Regions from separate parts of the Homo sapiens genome. Here region 2 is linked to region 1. The links are contacts of gene promoters, found by promoter capture Hi-C in human tissues and cell types (Jung and others, 2019). All regions are on one chromosome and are shown on one strand. The core of a region is centred on a gene start or on the middle of the fragment in contact, and the rest is flanking DNA. Distances in the headings are between cores, read along the strand shown.

Evidence for each region. Contacts are between HindIII fragments. The study calls those that stand out against the background at their distance.
Region 2: a contact is called between the fragment with the promoter of MAEA here and the fragment with the promoter of PCGF3 in region 1, in 1 of the 25 tissues and cell types used here (lymphoblastoid cells).

What each region holds. Positions count from the first base shown.
Region 1 is chr4:703,195-710,148 of GRCh38, reverse strand. PCGF3 (polycomb group ring finger 3) reads right to left here and starts at 4,317. Exons shown (of 11, transcript NM_006315.7): 1 at 4,179-4,317. RefSeq lists enhancers at 2,559-3,543, 3,544-4,529, 5,570-6,297 and a silencer at 3,895-4,594. The HindIII fragment of the contact is 34,476 bases long and covers 1-6,954 here.
Region 2 is chr4:1,287,267-1,294,220 of GRCh38, reverse strand. MAEA (macrophage erythroblast attacher, E3 ubiquitin ligase) reads right to left here and starts at 4,330. Exons shown (of 9, transcript NM_001017405.3): 1 at 4,239-4,330. The coding sequence starts at 4,307. LOC105374347 (a long non-coding RNA gene) reads left to right here and starts at 4,650. Exons shown (of 3, transcript XR_925046.3): 1 at 4,650-5,336. It overlaps LOC105374346 (a long non-coding RNA gene), which reads right to left and starts at 6,618. Exons shown (of 2, transcript XR_925043.3): 1 at 6,498-6,618; 2 at 5,927-6,195. RefSeq lists silencers at 2,749-2,931, 4,020-4,299, 4,400-4,809. The HindIII fragment of the contact is 22,633 bases long and covers 1-6,954 here.

The sequences.
Region 1 (6,954 bases), core at 3,068-5,567:
TTATCATCGGACTGTTGGTTTAAGGCAGGGGTTCTGGGGTAATCTGCCACACAGCAATATATAAATAATACAACCACTCAGCACGGCCTAAAAACACCTCTAAAACACACCTCTAAAAGCCTGGGAACCAGACAGTACAGAGCCAAACAAACCTGAACACTCAGCTTCACAAGCCTCTTCCACAATTTCACAAAGCAAATGAAGTTTAAAAAACAGTAAAGGATATGTCAAAAGAGCAAATCAGAAGGAAGTGTTGAGTAAAAAGGTCCCTGGCGGTTACACTGGGCGAGTAAGAGCTTCTAGGTCCAGGCTGACCACGCAGGGACACGACGTGGCTGACACTGAGTACCCTGAAATGTTAAGCTGAAAACCTAACACGGTTTTCTCCTAAGTAACCAAGAAGTGAAGCTGTGGCAAAGATGAAATCCCGAACCATCCAATTCAGTGTCTCTCTTGGGAGTCTAGATAGCTCAGAGTTTTAGGGTTACACCTCATTGTACTGCCCAACTTCCAGGCAAGCCCGCACGCCTAATCCGAGGGGATGTCTCTGAAGAGCGGCCCTGCCTTTCATTCATTTGTTCATGCATCACTCACTCTTGCCTTTCATTCATTTGTTCATACATCATTCACTCTTGCCTTTCATTCATTTGTTCATGGATCATTCACGCTTGCCTTTCATTCATTTGCTCATGGATCATTCACTCTTGCCTTTCATTCATTTGTTCATGCATCATTCACTCTTGCCTTTCATTCATGTGTTCATGCATCATTCACTCTTGCCTTTCATTCATTTGTTCATGCATCATTCACTCTTGCCTTTCATTCATTTGTTCATGCATCATTCACTCTTGCCTTTCATTCATTTGTTCATGCATCATTCACTCTTGCCTTTCATTCATTTGTTCATGCATCATTCACTCTTGCCTTTCATTCGTTCATGCATCATTCACTCTTTTGGGGAATGTACGGCACACCAAGCAGCCACACGGCACCCTCTGGGAGCAGGGTTCCTGGGATGACCACCCTCTGGAAACACCCCTGACAAGATGTCACTAGACAACCCTTCCCTAGTCAAAGGACAGCATAGACCGCTCGCTTCTGAATACCTCATGCACCCCACTTTTTCATTACCACTTCCAAATTAAAGGAAAACACCCACAAGTTTTTGATAAAAGGCTGATTCAAAGGTTTCAGAGAAATAAACCAACCCCCGTCCCCAGCCCGATCACCACCAGGATCCTTTAATTCCTTCCCTTACTAGAGAGGGAGTGGGAAATAGCCTTGCCTGCTCCAACTTTCCTGACTTGGACCAACTGTCCCCAAAATATGCCCAGGAGTCCACATCCCAGCTCAGACCCCACCCCTCCTCCAAGTCTCCCGGACACTGGAAACGCCTCTACACTGAGGAAGTGGGGCACTCACATGACCTTGAAGATGGGGAGAGGGGCAGGAGGGGTTGAAGGTGCTGGACACGGACCACAGCCAAGGCAAGGACAGGACAGCAGCCCCGGACGAGGGGCTGAGTGGGAGGGTGCAGTGCCAGCCTGAGGTGTGGAGCCTGTGGGCTGGGAGCTCCTGGAACCCTGAGGCCCCTGCCTCATACCTACCCCAGGTATCACCTAGGCGGTTCATGTGCAGGGGCTGTGGGGCTGGCCCAGGGTCTCATGGAAAGGGCCTCGGGTACCAGGATGCCAGATGCCTGGCCTTCACAGCAGGTGCATCCAGCTGAGTGGACTGGGCAGATTCAGGACACTGCTGGATTCCCCCCCGAGGGTCCCAGTACTCCTTACAGTCCAGTCTTGGGGCCTACATGCTCCTCAGTGACTTGTTCAGGAGTCCCAGCCCTCTGAGGACCTGTCTGGAAGTTCCAGCTCTCATCAGGTCCTCTTTGAGAGCCTAGCCTTCTTCCCAGTCCACACCAGTGTCCCGACCCTAAGTGACCCCGTTTGAGGTCCTGGTCATCTAGAAGCCTGTCCATGTCATGAGCCCTTCTCACTGTCCAGTCTCAGGGTGCCGGGCCCTGGGAGAAAACAGGGCTGTCTCAGGGTCCCGGCCCCCAGGTGAAAACAGGGCTGTCCCAGGGTCCCGGCCCCCAGGTGAAAACAGGGCTGTCCCAGGGTCCCGGCCCCCAGGGGAAAACAGGGCTGTCCCAGGGTCCCGACCCCCAGGGGAAAACAGGGCTGTCCCAGGGTCCCGGCCCCCAGGGGAAAACAGGGCTGTCCCAGGGTCCCGACCCCCAGGGGAAAACAGGGCTGTCTCAGGGTCCCGACCCCCAGGTGAAAACAGGGCTGTCCCAGGGTCCCGACCCCCAGGGGAAAACAGGGCTGTCCCAGGGTCCCGGCCCCCAGGGGAAAACAGAGCTGTCCCAGGGTCCCGGCCCCCAGGTGAAAACAGAGCTGTCTCAGGGTCCCGGCCCCCAGGTGAAAACAGAGCTGTCTCAGGGTCCCGGCCCCCAGGGGAAAACAGAGCTGTCCCAGGGTCCCGACCCCCAGGGGAAAACAGGGCTGTCCCAGGGTCCCGACCCCCAGGGGAAAACAGAGCTGTCCCAGAGTCCCGACCCCCAGGGGAAAACAGAGCTGTCCCAGGGTCCCGACCCCCAGGGGAAAACAGGGCTGTCCCAGGGTCCCGGCCCCCGGGTGAAAACAGGCTGTCCCAGGGTCCCGGCCCCCAGGGGAAAACAGGGCTGTCTCAGGGTCCCGGGGGAGACGGGGCAGTCTCAGGGTCCCAGCAGTGCTCACAGGACTCACAAGACTGCTCCAGGGTCAGGTCCTCCTGAATTATGGTCATGGGGTCCTGGCCCTCGTCTGTGACCCACTTTAAGGCAGGACCTTCCTGGGGGATCTATTCTGGGGTCCTGGCATTCTTTGGATTCTGCCTGGTCCCTACGTCTGGCCCTCCTCCGTGATTCTTCCCAGGGTCCTAGCCCCCCCGGGCCCTGCCAGGTGGCCAGGTCCGACCCTCCTTGGTGACCCATCTTGGGGTCCCAGCCCTTCTCGGTGACCTGTCCCAGGGTCAGACCCTCCTGGATGATGTGTCATTGTGTCCTAGCACTCTGGGGGTCCTGTGCAATCCCAGAGCCCAACTCTCTTCAGGTCCTGCCTGGTCTGAAGACCCAGCCCTCCCGGGGTCCTGCCTGGGCTGGGGTCGCGACCTTCCCAGGGTCCTGCCTGGGCTGGGGTCCCTACCCTCCCGCGGTCCTGCCTGGGCTGGGGTCTTTGCCCTCACCTGGGTCCTGCCTGGTCTGGGGTCTTCGCCCTCCCTGGGTCCTGCCTGGGCTGGGGTCGCGACCTTCCCAGGGTCCTGCCTGGTCTGGGGTCCCTGCCCTCCCGCGGTCCTGCCTGGGCTGGGGTCTTCGCCCTCACCTGGGTCCTGCCTGGTCTGGGGTCTTCGCCCTCCCTGGGTCCTGCCTGGGCTGGGGTCGCGACCTTCCCAGGGTCCTGCCTGGTCTGGGGTCCCTGCCCTCCCGCGGTCCTGCCTGGGCTGGGGTCTTCGCCCTCCCTGGGTCCTGCCTGGTCTGGGGTCTTGGCCCTCCCGGGGTCCTGCCTGGTCTGGGGTCCCTGCCCTCCCGCGGTCCTGCCTGGGCTGGGGTCTTCGCCCTCCCTGGGTCCTGCCTGGTCTGGGGTCTTGGCCCTCCCGGGGTCCTGCCTGGTCTGGGGTCTTGGCCCTCCCTGTTCTGGGGTCTTTGCCCTCCCTGGGTCCTGCCTGGGCTGGGGTCTTCGACCTCCCGGAGTCCTGCCTGGGCTGGGGTCTTGCCCTCCCTGCGTCCTGCCTGGACTGGGGTCTTGCCCTCCCTGCGTCCTGCCTGGGCTGCTGTCCCAGCCCTCCCTGGGTCCTGCCTGGGCTGGGGTCTTCGACCTCCCGGAGTCCTGCCTGGGCTGGGGTCTTGCCCTCCCTGCGTCCTGCCTAGGCTGGAGTCCCAGCCCTCCCGGGGTCCTGCCTGGGCTGGGCTCTTGGCCCTCCCGGAGTCCTGCCTGGGCTGGGGTCTTCGACCTCCCGGAGTCCTGACTGGGCTGGGGTGCCGGCCCTCCCGGGCCTGCCAAGGGCTTCCCGGGCCAGGCCGACGGGGACGACGGAGCGCGGGCCCGGGGTTCGGAGCCTTCCGGGCCGGACACGGGCCGAGGCCGCAGCCTGAGGAGCGGGCGCCGAGGGCCCAGGCCAGGCGGGGCGGACTCACTGACCTGCGGTCTCGGGGCTGCGGGCGAGCAAGGCGCACGCGGGGTCCGCGCCGGAGGGGGGAGGGGGCGCCGCTCCCTCTGGGTCCCCCCCAAGAGGAGGAGAAAAAAGCCCGTCCGGAGTTTAAAACAAAGAGGCGGAAATGCCCGAGCCGAGCCGAGCGCCGCGTCGGGGGCGCCGCGCTCGGAGCATGCGCGGTGTGCGTCTGGGCTCCCACCCCGCGGCAAGGGGCGTGGGCGGGGCCAGGCGGTAAGGGGTGGGGATAGGGGCGGGGAGGGGCGTGTTCAGAGGGCGCAGGCGCGTCGGGCCTGGACTCGGCGGAGGGAGCCGCGGGGCGCGAGGGCCAGGGGCGAGGCATAGGGCGGGGCCATGAGGGGCGTGGTCAGGAGAGCGACAGGGCCGCGCTGTGCTGAGGGACCCGACGGGTCCTGGACGATCGTGAGCTGGGGCGCTGGAGCAGCAGAGTCCTCAGGCCCGGGTCCCTCCGGGGGTGCCGTCCAGTACGGGTGCTGCTGTCCTTTGTGGGAGCCGGGACTGAGCGCCCTCCCGGCAGGGTTAAGGGTCGGTGTTAGGGTCAGGGGTCGGGTTAGGGGTCAGAGTCAGGGTTAGGGTTGGGTTTAGGTTTAGGGTCAGGGTTAGGGGTTAGAGTCAGGGTTAGGACTGGGTTTAGGGCTAGGGTCAGCATTAGGGGTTAGGGTTAGGGTTGGGTTTATGGTTAGGGTCAGGATTAGGGGTGGGGTCAGGGTCAGGGGTTAGGGTCTGGTCTAGGGTTAGGGTTGGGTTTAGGGTTAGGGTCAGGGTTAGGGTTAGGGTTGGGTTTTAGGGTTAGGGTCAGGGTTAGGGTTAGAGTCAGGGTTAGGACTGGATTTAGGGTTAGGGTCAGCATTAGGGGTTAGGGTTAGGGTTGGTTTTACGGTTAGGGTCAGGATTAGGGGTAGGGTCAGAGTTAGGGGTTAGGTTTAGGGTTAGGGTTGGGTTTAGGGTTAGGGTCAGGATTAGGGGTGGGGTCAGGGTCAGGGGTTCGGGTCTGGTCATGTTTAGGCTTGTATTTAGGTTATGTTCAGCATCAGGACGGACAGGGCACCCACGTGCGGACTCTCCGACCTGGGTGCCCTCCGCCAGGGTGGAGCAGTACGGGCGGCATTTGCGCCTTCGTGGGACTGGCACTGTCCTGAGAGGGCGGGATCCGAGGACCGAGGGCGCGTGCGGGGGTGAGGCGGACGTGCAGGCACGCGGGGTCCTAGGGTCTCCCGGTTTGCGGGTTCTGGGCTGGCGGCCCAGGACGGGAGGGCAGGTTGGGTCTTGGGTGGGAAGCGAGACCACTGTGGTTCCGGGCGGCGGGGCACCGCGCAGTGTGGAGGCTTGGTGGCGAGAGGGGAGGCCCCGTAGGCCCAGGGGCACTCGCTGCGAGGCTGTGCGGTGCAGGCATGGAGCAGGAGTCGGGAGTCATTAGCTCGTCCCGTCTGGAGAGGTGGTGGCTGAGGGAGTGACCCTGCGACTGTCCCCGTGAAGTCTAGAGTTGGACCCCGGGAGCAGCCACCAGGCAGGGGGCCCCGGGCCCAGGTATGGTGCAGCACGTGGGGAAGCGGCTTGAGTCCGCTGCTGAGAGGGGCCTGAGAAGGGCTGGGGGCCTGCTGAGATCTCCAGCACTGGGTGGACACGTTATCCGGGTGGGAGGAGGACAGACAGCAGACATGTGAATGTGTACAGCATTCCCAGGCATGCTGCTGTGAAGGGGAGGGACTAAATGTGGCCACTGCTGCCCCCGGGGGAGGGGAGGCAGGGAGGGCTCCGTGGAGCCATGGGGTGGCCCAGTGCAGGGGAGGGGCCCACTGGAGAGGGCTGCCTGGGATTGGGGTACTGGGGTGCTGGCCCTCCACAAGAGCCCTGACTGCAGTTTTCAGTTGGTGGAGGCAGGCCCCAGATGTGGAGGGGAGGACTGGAGGATCATCCCAGAAGGAGGGCAGGGGCAAGGTATTGGTGCTGGGGTGCAAGGGGCAGGGGGTGGCCAGCAGGCCAGGAACAGTCCTGGGCTGAGTGTGGTGGCCTCAGGAAGAGGCAGAGTGGTAAGCTGCAGTTCAGAACTCACTCCAGGCCCCAGGCCCCTCCTCAAGGAGGTGCAGACCCTACCCCTAGGCTTCCCACTACTCTCCTGGGTGGGTGCCAGCGGTGCCCGGACCTTGACTCTGAGCCCTGGGCTCTTGTGTCCAGCTCTGTTTCTGCTGAATGTCATTAGGAAGCTTAAATGCCACATGGCCGGATGGCTTCCCCAGGCCATCCTGAGTCTGCTGTGTACCCCAGGACCCCCCACCCCCCACCGCCAGTCCTGAGGCAAGACCCCAGAGTCCTCTGCACCCTCTTCCTCTCATGCCCAAACTGGCCATCCATGGCCCATCGGCAGCCAGCCAGGTCTCCCACCTGCACCCTCCTGGGACCTCACTCAGCCAAGGCCCGAGGGTGGAGGCATCGGGGCCAAAGAAGCCTAGGGTGTTGGCAGTGTGTGCTGTCCTGGTGTGAGTTCGGGGTGTGCACATATTACATACAGGCACGTATTCCTTAGCAGAGCTGTAAAGAAGGGAGGCAGGAATCATGGCACAAGCAGACTGGAGTAGAGGGGAGGCCCCTGTCCCCCCCAGAGGGTGCCCCAACCTTCCCCAGGGTGCCGGTCCGCCCTCCCTGCCCACCCAGTCACTAGGGCCTCCTAGGGCCATTGGGTGCCTCTCTGGCAGATCATTCTGGTCACTCACAAACTGGCAGAGGGTCTGCCCATCCTTGAGGATG
Region 2 (6,954 bases), core at 3,081-5,580, 580 kb before region 1:
GTGGAGCTGGGAGCCACAAAGGGCAGACCATGGCTCTTCTGGGCAGAAGGAATTTCCACTGTGCTCTAGAGACCGGGCGGATTCTGGAGGGCTGTGACGTTACTGCAGATAAAGTACATCGAAAAAGCCGGCCACAGAAGAGGTGGAGACCCGGCCTAAGACTCCTCAGACACGGCATCACCAGGGTCCAACCCAATGTGTGTGTCAGTAAGTCAAACGCTTCGTGGTTGCCTGTGTTTCTCACACTCGAGAACACATGATCCTCCCAAATCCAGCCAAGATGGAGTGAAGAAAACTACAAAAGGCGCAGGAGCAGTTACAACTTCAGCACACAGCTGGCACCCGAACTCCCTACCACAGGCACAGACCCAGGCTGTGAGGCATCAGGGCCATGCCTGGGCAACCAGACTGTCATCAAACCAAAGGCAGAACATGCAAATCTTCCTGTAGAGAATTCAGACACCTGAGAATGCAACCACAAGCCCGGTGTTTCTCAGCCTGTCCTCTGGGGAGAGGACAGCATCACCACCTTGGGTGTGAGAGGACTCACTGGAGCTGGGAACCCTTGCTGGGGCTCCAGGAGAGGAGAGGTGGGCCCAGGTGGGGTTCACAGAGAGGAGCCAGGTCCAGACCAGGGTCTCCAGGTGATGAACACCACTTCCCGCCCTGGGCTGTGCAGACACCCATGTGAAATTCTCTAAACTATTATTTTTCTTCGGCTATCTGAAGGGAAATAGTAGGAGTAAATACACCAAAATGTTAATGAAGTTCTCTCTGTGCAGCAGGGTAACTTGAAGAAAAAACAAATTACTTTTATTTATTTATTATTTGAGACAGGGTCTCACTCTGTCACCCAGGCTGGAGGGCAGTGGTGCAATCTCGGTTCACCACAGCCTGGATCTCCTGGCTCAAGTGATCCTCTCGCCTCAGCCTCCCAATTAGCTGGGACTACAGGCGCACACCACCGCACCCAACTCATCAAATTACTTTTATAATCAGAAAAAAAAAAACCTTTTACAAAATAATGAAAGCAAGGGCTTCCAATTCAAGATGGTGAACTATGCATGTTGAATTGAAAGATGGTGAATTCCTGAGGTCAGGAGTTCAAGACCAGCTGGACAACATGGAGAAACCACGTCTCTACTAAAAAATACAAAAAATTAGCTGGGCATGGTGGCGGGTGCCTGTAATCTCAGCTACTCGGGAGGCTGAGGTAGGAGAATTGCTTGAATCTGGGAGGCAGAGGTTGCAGTGAGCTGAGATTGTGCCACCGCGCTCCAGCCTGGGCAACAGAGTGAGACTCCGTCTCAAAAAAGAAAAAAAAAAAAAAAAAAGATGGTGAGTTATTCATCTTTCCCCTCCCCCACAAGGCATTACCCACCACCCTACACCGGACGGCGTTCACAGCATTTGACAGCAAAAAGACACAGCCACAGCCAGGACGCAAGGCTGAGTCCTCATGAGCCACACCTCCGTTTGGTAAGAGGAAGAAACAAGTCCCTTAAAGCAGGATCCAGCCCAGCAATTCTCAGGGGTGTGTGCATGCCCCCAGGGCACATCTAGCAATGTCTGAAGACATTTTGGGGGCATGCTCTTGGCATCTGGCAGGCAGACACCAGGGATGCTGCTAGACATCCTAGACTGCACAGCCCCCACCACCGACAAAGGCTCCTCCAGCCCAAACGTTCGCAGGCCGGTCCACCCCTTTGGTGGAAATAGAAGCTCATGACGACAGAGGTGCCCAAGGTCAGTGCGTGTTGGCTGCAGCAATTCACGTCTGTTCCATTCTCTTCCCACTTCACCAGGAAAATAGAAAAATAAGTACCTGCCAGGCACCCAGGAGCCCCACCAGCCGCCCTGACGCTGTGAGGAAGCAGACATCCCAAGTGTTACTGCTGAAACCCACCTAGGGCTACCAAGCCCTCTGAAGAGAAAGGAATCCCCTGTGAGTCTGTGGAGGACTCACATGGCAGGAAAGCAGTTTAACTATTACCAGGTGAAGATCCAGTCCAGAGCATGCCAGCTGCTACCACCCTGCAGGAGGACTTGCTCTCAGACTAGAGAAGCAGAACATCCACCCCCCACCTTCCACAACCCCGGTCCTGCAGCCCTCGGTCCCTTCTCTGACATCTGCACTGGCCCCTCCTGGAAACTGAAGAGTGCAGCTCTTGAGCTGTGAGCTCAGCATGTTCTGTTTAGTTCTATACCAATAAATGCTTCTAAATCAAGGATCCCTAGTTTCCCAGCAAAACACCTCCATTATCCACTAGGAATCACTCCTGAAAACTTCTATGAAAAAAAGTTTTAACTCAGTAGTGACACAAGTGTCAACAGAGAAATTATGACACTATAATATTTCTTTACCTGTATGACTATCTGCATGACTATTTTAATCAGAAGCTATGCAATCACTCTGGAATACAAATTACATTCACGATTACAAAACAGCAGAAGACCTGAAGAAGAATCCTTTCCGGAGACCTTCCATCTCCCTTCCTAGTTCCTTCAATACACAATGAAAGGATTTCTGGAAACTTTTCCTATCTAGTGTTTCCCACATTCACCAGCCAGTACCAGAAGTGACAAACCACCACGGTTCTGATCTTCAAACCTTCTTGTGTGTTAGCTGAAATGACAGGCCTGGAGGTGCACTGCGTGAGACAAAGTGGTCAGTGGTTAGGACTCCCTACTAATATCACCACAATGTCCTTGTATAGACTTCTCTCAGCTGCAGGGTCTCCATCTCTAAACCAACAGAGATCCACCAATGTCACTGAGTATTAAAAACCAACCACCTACATCTTGGAGGGATCTAGCAAGAGGCTAGACCTTTGGTAACGTCAGCAACATTGCCCTCCCTTCCTTGATCAAAAGAAGTGCTGGACACACAAGCACCATGAAACCCCACTGCGAAACCATTAGTGTGGCGGGCGCGTGGCTCACACCTGTCAGCCCAGCGCTTTGGGAGGTCAAAAGGCAGGAGGATCGCTTAAGTCCTGGAATCCAAAACCACCCTAGGCAACAGTGAAACCCCGTTTCTTTTTAAAAATATGAAATAAACCGCTAGTTAATAAAGAGGAGGAGAAGCTTGCTTCTGCTTTCCTATGAAGACCAGCTACAGCAGGGTACAGCCTGACTTCAGCAGCGCTAACTGTAGCAGGGACCTTTTAATGAATGCTAGGCACTGTTTGAAACAATACGTGGTCACTCATTTCACCCTGAGGTGACACAGGCGCTACCACTGCTTAAACCTGACAAGAATAAACAGTCACCAACCGGGCCCTGATGTCTCCCAGTAAGGACGAATACAGAGAAGCCTGATTCACACCCCAGCAGGATGGCTCACAGCCTGTGCTCTTCAGCCCTTCGCTGAACTGCCCTGGGGCTGGGGGAACGCACAGCAACCTGGCCATACTGCATCCTCCACACCTGTCGCCACACCGTCCGTCCTCAGACGGACGTGAACACCAGGGCGCTCTGGGAGGAGAGAGAAACTACGCAGCTCTCCAGGAAGGCAACACAGAACCACGAAGCTCAGCCGCAGCTCTAGGAAAGCTATGACCTTGATCTTTTAAGGAATTCCTTCCCAGGTGCTTCATATCAAATCCTCTACTAACTAGGTAAAGAACAAGTATCGGCTCCTTCTACTAGGAGCACAAATTTCATTCTAAGAAGTGCGACGTGGCTAGGTGACCACCCAAGGTCACGCAACCGGCAGCCGGACGGCAAGAGCTGTATTTCAGGTTTGGTGACGCCCATCAAAAAGGTCGCTGGGTGCCATCAGGCCGTGAGGTTTCTCCCTACAGTTCCTAACTAGCGACCGGCGCAGCCGGCACCTCCCAGCCCTGGGCTCCCGGGAGGGCGGCCGGGCACTGGCTGGGCACGCCGCGCACTCCGTCTGCCTGGGCGCCAGAGACCCCACGCCCCGCAAACTCCGGCTTCCACCCCAGCCCCAAATTCGCCACCCTTAGCGCTGCCAGAGTCGTCGCTGGCTCGGCTCACGCAGCTCTTCAAGCAGAGGGGCCACAGTCGGGCGCCTGGCAGGGCCAAAGCCGCCGCCCCCGCCACACCTGCCCGGCGCGGACCGGGCGCCCCTGAGAAGCCCGCACGGCCCCGCGAGGCCGCGCCCAGCTCCCGCCGCCCTCGCCGCTGGCCCTCCCGGGGCGGCCCCTCGCGGCCCGAGGGCACTGGCTGGAGACGCCTTCGCTGCCCTCAGCCTGCGCGGCGCAGGCGCCCACCTTGAGGGTCGGGTACTCCTGGACCTTCAGGGTCATGGACAACTGAGCCGCCGACTCCTGCACCGCCATCTTGAAGCGGCCAAAACATTAGCGGGCGGGGGACGCGCGAGCGCGCTGCACGCCGGGAAATGACGCCACGCGCCGGCCGGAGCAGGATGGGGGCGGGCCGATGCCCCTGCACCAATCGTATCCGCCCAGTCGGCCGGAGGCGGAAGAAGGCGCGAACCAATCACTGCCGGGTTTCCTCTCGTTCAGCCAATCAACGATAGCCCCGGCTGGCGGTTTCCACCTTGAATTCGCTACCGGGTTCAGGCCGCAGACGCCGGAGCTGGGGATGCTCCTGGCCCGGGGCGGGCCGATGGGGTGCGGGCTGCGGCCCGGGCGGGTGGAGCTGGGGCCGAGCGGGCTGGGGGACTTGGCGTCCGTCCAGTTACTTGGGGCTCCCGCGGGGTGGTCCCCTGTGGGTCCCTCGTGCCTGCGGTACCAAGGGCAACGCCAACAAAACGCCTGGCCGCATGCGCCTGTAGCCAGCTATTTTTCTTTGGCCTTATTTTGACCGATTTACAGCTGCTGGAATCCTGATGTGGAACCTCCGACTTCCCAACGGAAGAGGAAAGGCCCAGTACCTAAAACTGATTTATGGACAGAAACTCCCGAAGCATGAGAAGCGTGTGGCCTCTCCGCCCTCTCCTTGCAGGGCGGGCAGCGCTGGCATCCAGGTCGTGCGCTGCCTTCATTTCAGCCACTTCACATTCTCAGCCTTTCAAACACCACCCGTCTCCCTCCTTTCCAAAATAAAACTGAAATTAGATTTTATTAATTAGGAAATGACGTCCCAATTAAACCACCTTGTGTTTCACATAACACATTTCTAAACAACTTTTAAAATATTTGGTGTTTAAACAAAGGAAAAACATCTAAGGTGACACAGCGATGAAGGGAGAACCTCCGCTTGGAGGCTGCTACATGTTACAGCCGCAAGACATCCGACCCGCACTGTGGAATCTTTCTCTGTCTTACTTAAACAGGAGTTGGGACTAAGGAAAGTGTTATTCCTCAAGTGTGTGGCTGCAGACTCCAGTCTTTTAGACATTTGAAGTAAGTTTTACAGTGAGGTGCACAAATCTTAACTATACAGCTTTAATGAATTTTCACCCATATTTGCACTTTTATCTAACCGTGTCCTGGTTGAGATTTAGGACATTTCCCGTGGCACAGAAAGCTCCTCTGCCCCTTCCCGGGCTATATCCCCATCATTCTAACCCTGCTCCCCGTAACAGCGTTCCTGACCTTCCTATAGAGATGGAAGCATGCACTCTGTACTCTTTGCGTCCTTTCACGGTTCGCATCGTGTCTGCCACTCTCCGGGATGGTCCCAGTAGTACACAGGAGCACTGCAGCAGTTGGATGGACTGCACTCCTCTTAGAGACTGCCTTCACTTCACCAGGGATTCAAGATTAACCCAAAGGAAAGGACACGGGTTTCATTTCCATGGTAAAATGATCCTATCCTAGTACCATCTACAGTCAGAAATACTTAGGAATTATAAGGCAGAGGTTTGCACGTTGGAGAGGTTGTTTAACCCTCTACAACCTTTGAGTCATTCATTCTAGGTTTTCTTATGTTGGAAGATAAAACTGTATTTGAATTAGTCCTTTTGTAAACCAAAAAGTGTCTGAGACAGATCTCAATCAGTTTAGAAGTTTATGTTGCCAAGGTTAAGGATCATGACCAGTGACACAGCCTCAAGAGGTCCTCAGAACACATGCCCAAGGTGGTTGGGTTACAGCTTGATTTTATACGTTTTAAGGAGATGTAGGCATCAATCAGTACATGTGAGATTTACATTGGTCCGAAAAGGCAGGACAACACAAAGCACAGCGGGGCTTCCAGCTCACAGGTGGATTCAAAGATTTTCTGATTGGCATTTGGTTGAAAGAGTGCTTATCTAAAGATCTGGAATCGAGAGAAAGGAGCATCTGGGTTAAAAGGGGTTGTGGAGACCAACGTTCTTATTACATAGATGAAGCCTCATAGGTGGCCACCATTAGAAGCAATAGATGGCAAATGTTTCATATCTAGATCTTAAAAAGCTGCTAGACTTGGCCGGGTGCTGTGGCTCACGCCTGTAATCCCAGCACTTTGGGAGGCCGAGGCGGGCGGATCACGAGGTCAGAGATCAAGACTATCCTGGCCAACATGGTAAAACCCTGTCTCTACTAAAAATACAAAAATTAGCTGGATGTGGTGGCACTCACCTGTAGTCCCAGGTACTTGGGAGGCTGAGGCAGGAGAATCACTTGAACCTGGGAGGCAGAGGTTGCAGTAAGCCAAGATCACACCACTGCACTCCAGCCTGGGTGACACAGCGAGACTCCTAAAAAAAAAAAAAAAAAAAAAAAAAAACAAGAGCTGCTAGACTCTCAGTTAACCATTAACTTCTTCAGAATCAGAAAAGACCCGGAAAGGAAGGGCAAGGGATTCCCTACAGAATGTAAATTTCTCCCACAAGAGACAGCTTTGCAGGGCCCTTTCAAAATATGTCAAAGAAATATATTTTGGGGTAAAACACTTTGATTTCCTTCAAGGCCAGCTATCTGTCATGTGATGCTCTACTAGAGTCAAGTTGGAATTTGGCATCTTATTGCTACAGAGTCTGTTTTGTCAGTCTTAAGATCTCTGTTTTAATGTTAATGCTGGTAAGTTTTGTGCCTG